Regions from separate parts of the Homo sapiens genome. Here region 1 is linked to region 2. The links are contacts of gene promoters, found by promoter capture Hi-C in blood cells and fetal thymus (Javierre and others, 2016). All regions are on one chromosome and are shown on one strand. The core of a region is centred on a gene start or on the middle of the fragment in contact, and the rest is flanking DNA. Distances in the headings are between cores, read along the strand shown. Region 1 overlaps C16orf87 (chromosome 16 open reading frame 87). Region 2 holds the start of VPS35 (VPS35 retromer complex component).

The links. Contacts are between HindIII fragments. The CHiCAGO score rates a contact against its expected background, and 5 or more counts as called.
Region 1: a contact is called between a fragment that was not itself captured here and the fragment with the promoter of VPS35 in region 2, in 14 of 17 cell types (megakaryocytes, M1 macrophages, M2 macrophages and 11 more). The highest score is 14.5, in megakaryocytes.

What each region holds. Positions count from the first base shown.
Region 1 is chr16:46,808,417-46,811,445 of GRCh38, reverse strand. C16orf87 (chromosome 16 open reading frame 87) reads left to right here. Exons shown (of 4, transcript NM_001001436.4): 3 at 1,661-1,843. Among named protein-coding and RNA genes, the nearest start is that of C16orf87, 21 kb to the left of the region's middle. The HindIII fragment of the contact is 5,700 bases long and covers 1-3,029 here.
Region 2 is chr16:46,687,619-46,690,556 of GRCh38, reverse strand. It overlaps VPS35 (VPS35 retromer complex component), which reads left to right and starts at 1,379. Exons shown (of 17, transcript NM_018206.6): 1 at 1,379-1,426. The coding sequence starts at 1,424. ORC6 (origin recognition complex subunit 6) reads right to left here and starts at 898. Exons shown (of 7, transcript NM_014321.4): 1 at 787-898. The coding sequence starts at 851. RefSeq lists enhancers at 75-144, 195-274, 512-1,210, 1,211-1,908 and silencers at 615-914, 1,235-1,474, 1,625-1,674. The HindIII fragment of the contact is 9,040 bases long and covers 1-2,938 here.

The sequences.
Region 1 (3,029 bases), core at 428-2,927, 120 kb before region 2:
CCACAACCTCTGCCTCCTAGGTTCTAACGATTCTCCTGTCTCAGCCTCCCAAGTAGCTGGGATTACAGACACGTGCCACCACACCCAGCTAATTTTGTATTTTTAGTAGAGACGGGGTTTTGCCATGTTGGTCAGGCTGGTCTCGAACTCCTGACCTCAGGTGATCCACCCGCCTTGGCTACCCAAAGTGCTAGGATTATGGGTGTGAGCCACCGCGCCTGGCCTGCTTCTCTCTTTTAGTGATGTTAGTACCTGCTGATGTTTAGTGCTTAGAACCTTTAGTTCATTGCAGGTTGAAAAATGTTGATACTCTGATTCTGTCATTCCTTCTTCATTTATTAGCTTTAATATGAGAAACCTCTTCATTTGCCCTTTGGTTACCCCGTGAGTAGCACAGTTTAAATAGAAAAAGCAGAAGAAATGCTTTGTTCTTGCCCTATATTTAAGTTTTCAAAGTAATGAGTTGGTTCTTTAGTATCTTCGTATGGTGGCCAAGTAGTTTTTGTTTTTAATGTTAATGTACTCATATGCTTGATATATTTCAATCTGTTACAGTTACTATTTTTATTGATGCTCAAATTGTCCTGTAATAGTGGGAGCCTCTTCATGTTAGCCCAAGTCTTAACAACACCCTGCTTGTCTTTGATAACTTTCTTGCAATCTGGGATAATTAAATATTCTTGTATTATCTGGTATATGTCTAATTTGAAACTTCAGATTAATTCTCCAAGGATATGGTGTTTGGGGATAATATTACTATTTTACTTTTAATTTTTTTACAGCAGTCTATTAAGCATACTTATTTTATAGTCTTTCACATTGTTCCCTTTAGTTCTTTGGATATGAATTTTTCTGTTTGTTTTGCCCCTTTACCACTGAGATTTTTGGCATTTGGGGAATTCTCTTTCTTGCTTTTGAGTGCAGGTATGTGTTAAAGCAAGGTATCATCTTTTTTGTTTTTGTTTTGTTTTTTTCTTTAAGTTTATTGTTTGTCTTATCCAACATTTTGATTTGTTTAGAGTGGGAGGGGTGGCTTCTTGCACTAATTAAATCACCATATTTAGTAAAGTTTCCCTATTGCTATTCCATTTATGGAACAACATGCTCTTATATCAGAAATTACCTTATCTGTGGCTAAAGTGAAAATTACTCACTTGCCTAGGGTTTTTATATTTGTTATGGATGCTTTCTGTTTGATTTTTATTGTAACCTTAATACGTTATCTCTAAGATCAGTTTTGCTTTTGCATATTTCACATATTTTAATCTTTAACTCAGGTAGAGGGCAAAAGGGCATGCAGTTTTTTTCCTTTCTTAATATTTCACTATTTTTAGCTTGGAAACAGGAAGAAAAAGGCAGAAAGGTTGCTATGGAATTGTGTGAACTTGTAGAGGCTGAAATTTAAGCTGCCAAATGAAGAAACTTGTTTTCTCTTCCAAGATTCCTCCTACTTCATGTGTTATTGTGATCTGAATTCTATTGAATTTCTTTTTTTCTTATGAGGGTGTGGGGGAGACATATATGTTATGGTTGTAGTTCTATGAAATATGCCAGGAAGCATACTCTAGTGCTATTTAGAAAGAAAAAGGAAGACAATGAGAACTTGGGCAAACAGTTCTTGCTAAGCCCTAAAATATATCACTTTTATTCATCCATACAGAAAACAAGCATGAGGCCAAGAGGAGGCGAACAGAGAGAGTTAGGAGAGAGAAGATAAATTCTACAGTAAATAAAGATTTAGAAAACAGAAAGAGGTCTCGAAGTAACAGCCATTCAGATCATATCAGACGAGGAAGAGGAAGACCTAAAAGTGCATCTGCCAAAAAACATGAGGAAGAAAGAGGTATGAACAAATCAAGCAGTTTTTTTTTCAAGTATTAAATTGATCTGGGATCTTAATTAGGTAGTAGTGAAGAAAGTGGAGGCATTGAGCTCCTGGACTTAAAAATCACAACTCATATTTTAGTTTGAAAGCATTTCCTCTGTGGTAGATGCTTATTATTTTTTTAATCACAGGAATTTAATTCTTATTGGAAACCTGAAGGCTTAGTTAGGTAAAATTTACCTTGCTATAAACTGATGATAATAGAGTTCAAAGATAATTTGTATATGACATCCTGAAGAAGCCTGTTAAAATGATTGTACTTTTTTTTTTTTTTGAGACAGCGTGTTGTTCTGTCACCCAGGCTGGAGTGCAGTGGCGCGGTCATGGCTCACTGCAGCCTTAAACTCCAGGGCTCCGGTGATTCTCCCCTGAGCCTCCTGAGTAGCTGGGACTACAGGTGTGCACCATCATGCCTAGCTAATTTTTTGTAGAGGGGGGTTTCACCATGTTGCCCAGGCTAGTCTTGAACTTCTGGGCTCAAGCAATCTGCCCTCCTTGGCCTCCCAAAGTGTTGGGACCTCTTTTTTTTTTTTTTTTTTTTGTCTTTTAAAGACATGTCTGAGTTCTGTTAAGACTACTTCAAACTATTATACTGTGAGTTTTAAAATTTTACTATTGAAAGTGTTGTTGGTGGAGTTTTTAATTGCTCATTGGGAGATTTGTGTGCTTCCTACTCTGAGGCAGCTTTTGCATAGATGAATTCTTCTTGGTCCAGAGTATATTTCTTTTTCTCCTTACAGGTCTTCTTTCTTCTGACGAATATCTACCAATAGCTTGTTTTTAGACATTAAAACTTCAGTTTCTCTTTTTCTTTGATTTATGCATCTTTTTAAAAACTTACAGAAAATTTCAACATATGCAAGAGTAGAGAAAATAGTATAATGAACCTCTCTATGTCCACAAATACCTTTTTAAAATTGAGACTTTCAAGCTGGTAGTTAATTTAAAAAAGGGATAGTTGCTCTTTATTGTTCTTTAAAAACCTCTGTCAAAATGATTTCATCTTCACTGAAATGCATTTTTAATTTCTTACACTATTTGTGAGTTATGCTTTGCTTTTCAGACGTTCTGTCTTAGATACTCAAGTGCTTTTTGTATAAATGTAAATTTCACTTATTTTAGACAATAAGACCATTCTACCAGT
Region 2 (2,938 bases), core at 130-2,629:
GGACCCAAGAATTTGTATTTCTAACAAGTGACAAGATGATATGGCTGTTGCTGGTCCAGGAACCACATTTTGAGAACCACTGTTCTAAATGACTACCGAGTCCTGCAGGTTTGTCTTCAAATCTTTTAAGTGCTGTTTTCCTTGCCTTCCCTCGCCTGACTGCTCCACGTTTTAGCTACAATGGCTTTATTTCGAACCCCGGATCCCGCTTCCCATCTCAACGCTTTTACAGGAGCTGTCGCCCCTGCCTGGGCTGCTCTTGCCATATCTTTCCTCGCCTAGCATCTGCCATCAATCCGGCCTCAGCGGGAACGGCGCCTGCTTTTCCGAGTTTTGTTTGTTTCTTTGTGTTAAAGGCAGCCGCTAGGCCGCGCTCCACCCCAAGCCCAGTGGCTCAGGAGCATTGCCCGGTTAAGGTCTACACAGTCCTCGCCCTTACAGACAGCGGGGTCTGCGCCTCGTTGTCGGGTTCCCCGCTATAAACCCGACTGCAGTAGGCGTTGGCGGAATGAACGGAAAGTTCTCCCTGGCTCATTTTTCTACCCACGGACAGGGCTGGCTGTTCCCAGGGACGTGTGCCATCGCCGTTTGCTATCGCCCTTCTTGCCATCTCATTCAAGCTCACGGCCGAGAAGTTTTTCTTGAAGTAGGCCCTAAACCCCGCCCGGCCCCAGCGCTCCCCGTCACTCCCCCGCCGCCCGTCGCCTGGGAAGGGCGCGGGCCTCACCTGAGGGCCCAGGGCCGCGAGGCGGAAGCCCAGCCCTGGTCTTGCGCGGCCGAACTCACCTCAGCATGTCGGGCTCGGCGAGGCCCAGGCGCGGGGCTAGGCGCCCGATCAGCTCCGACCCCATGGCGCCGGCACTAAAGCGAACAATTCCCGTGAACGCCGCGGGTCAACGAAACCCGCGCGCAAAGGCTGCACCGGCCAGTGAGAGCCAGGCCCCACCCCCGGCGCATCTGGATTGGTTAGGACAGGACGTTGAGACCGTCCCACAAACCAATCAGGGTCTTCCTTTTGCGCATGCGCATCAATAGCGCAATCGCCAACGCAGATGCGGTGAACGTGGACTTGTCGGCTCCCCCTCCTTCCATTCCTTCTTGACAAACTCATCACACACTGCCTTTCCCTCCTGTTGTCTCCTGCCTGCCGCCGGGCGATCCCCACTGCCCTGCACTGCTCCGCCCACTCTCGCACGCTGTGGTGAGATTGGCTGGCGCTCAGGTCCGTCCATCTAGCGTTAAGTGACAGGGCCAATAAGCACGCGAGACTCGGGTTCCTAGAAGTAGGCCAATCAATGAGCCGCCTGTAGGGCCCGGGGGCGGGGCTAGAGAGGGCGGGGCTTGGAGGGGCCGCAGCGTCACATGACCGCGGGAGGCTACGCGCGGGGCGGGTGCTGCTTGCTGCAGGCTCTGGGGAGTCGCCATGGTGAGTGCTGAGGGGGCAGTGGCACCTGGGTCGACCCTCCTTGTAGCCCCTGCTCTCTCCCACCGCCCCGCACTCCAGCGAGTGGAGAAGGGGCCCCACAGACCGTTCGGGATTAAGACCAGCCCGATTTGGCCTGCGGGATAGGGGACAGCAGGAGGAAGGCCGCGGGCAGGCTGATCCGGGCCGGGGTGGGCGGCGGCTCTTGGCTGCGGCCGTTGCTGAGAGACGGGGCGGCCTCTCTGTGGGGTTGACTTGGCATGTAGGCTTTGGGGTCCATGAAGGCCTGCGGCCTCCTTTAAGTGGAATCGGTCACCTGCCTACCACGAGGGGACCGGTAGTCCTAGGTCTGAGCGTCTGGCCCCCGGGGCGCGTGGAGGCCCTGAGACTCGGAGGTGGCGCCGGGACCCGCCCAGATGTTGCGTTTCTACCTTTGTGCCTAGTTGTGCTCGGCCGTCCCCACGCCCTCCTGGAGGGGTCGCAGTGATTCCTTGGCCTTTCTTGGCCTCATACCCGCCTTCGGCTGCAGTGTTTGTCAGCGAGTTCTGGGGACCTGCTTACATGAATTTCCTGGAAGGACTCAGGCTGTCTTCTAATCCTGACGGTCGCAAAGGAGACTGATTGTTTACTTTAGCATTTGTGCATTGGGCGCACCTTGCCTCTTTTGTCTCGCCATTGATAAAATCCAAGTATTTGACTTGCTGGAAGCAGTACTTCTCCTTAGGGCCCGTCTATGACGGCAGCAAATCGTGGTGTGGCTGTTGGCCGGTAAACTTGAACTTCCTCAAAATGTGAATCTTTGTGTCTGGTTCCCACAAAGGCAAGTTGTCACTTGCATTTTATTAGCGTTTAACATAGCCTGCACTGTGTAAATAAATTTTTTGAGTATATACTGTATGTCCGCTTTAATTACCTTACTCACTCTGTGTAGATAGGCTTCTGTAAATCTGTAAGCCTGGAAACAGATTTCACTTTAAATGTCTTAATGCCAGAAAGGATTAAGTGTTTTACAAATACTATTTTCATATAACGTGTTGCCGTACAAGGTGATTTTGCCTGTTTCTCAGGATTTTTATAATTGGGAATTGATACAAGACCGGCGCAAAATTTAACTTTAGGATTTGTGTGTTTCCAGCGTTTATGGATTGACATTTATATTGTTTTGTAATGGAAAACACTTAATTGAGGATGTATTACACACTCCGATTCTTTGTTGGGTGAACCAGTTGGGAGCAATCAGCCAGACACACAGTCTTGTCCTCATGAATTTTATTGGGAAAGGAAACTTGAGTATTCGTTCTTTCACAGTCACTGTCTATAATTTAGGCAGCTCGCTTAGTCTTCTTGGTGTCGCACTTTTGCATCCGAAAGCAAGTGTTGGCGGCCCCTTTGGCCCTTCCCAGCCCTAAAATTCCAGAATCCACTTCAATTCATCAAACATCTTGTGTGCCTTCAGTGTCACGGACTGTGGCCCTGGGTACCAATGTCGAACTTAAGAGGCTACTGGGGGAGACA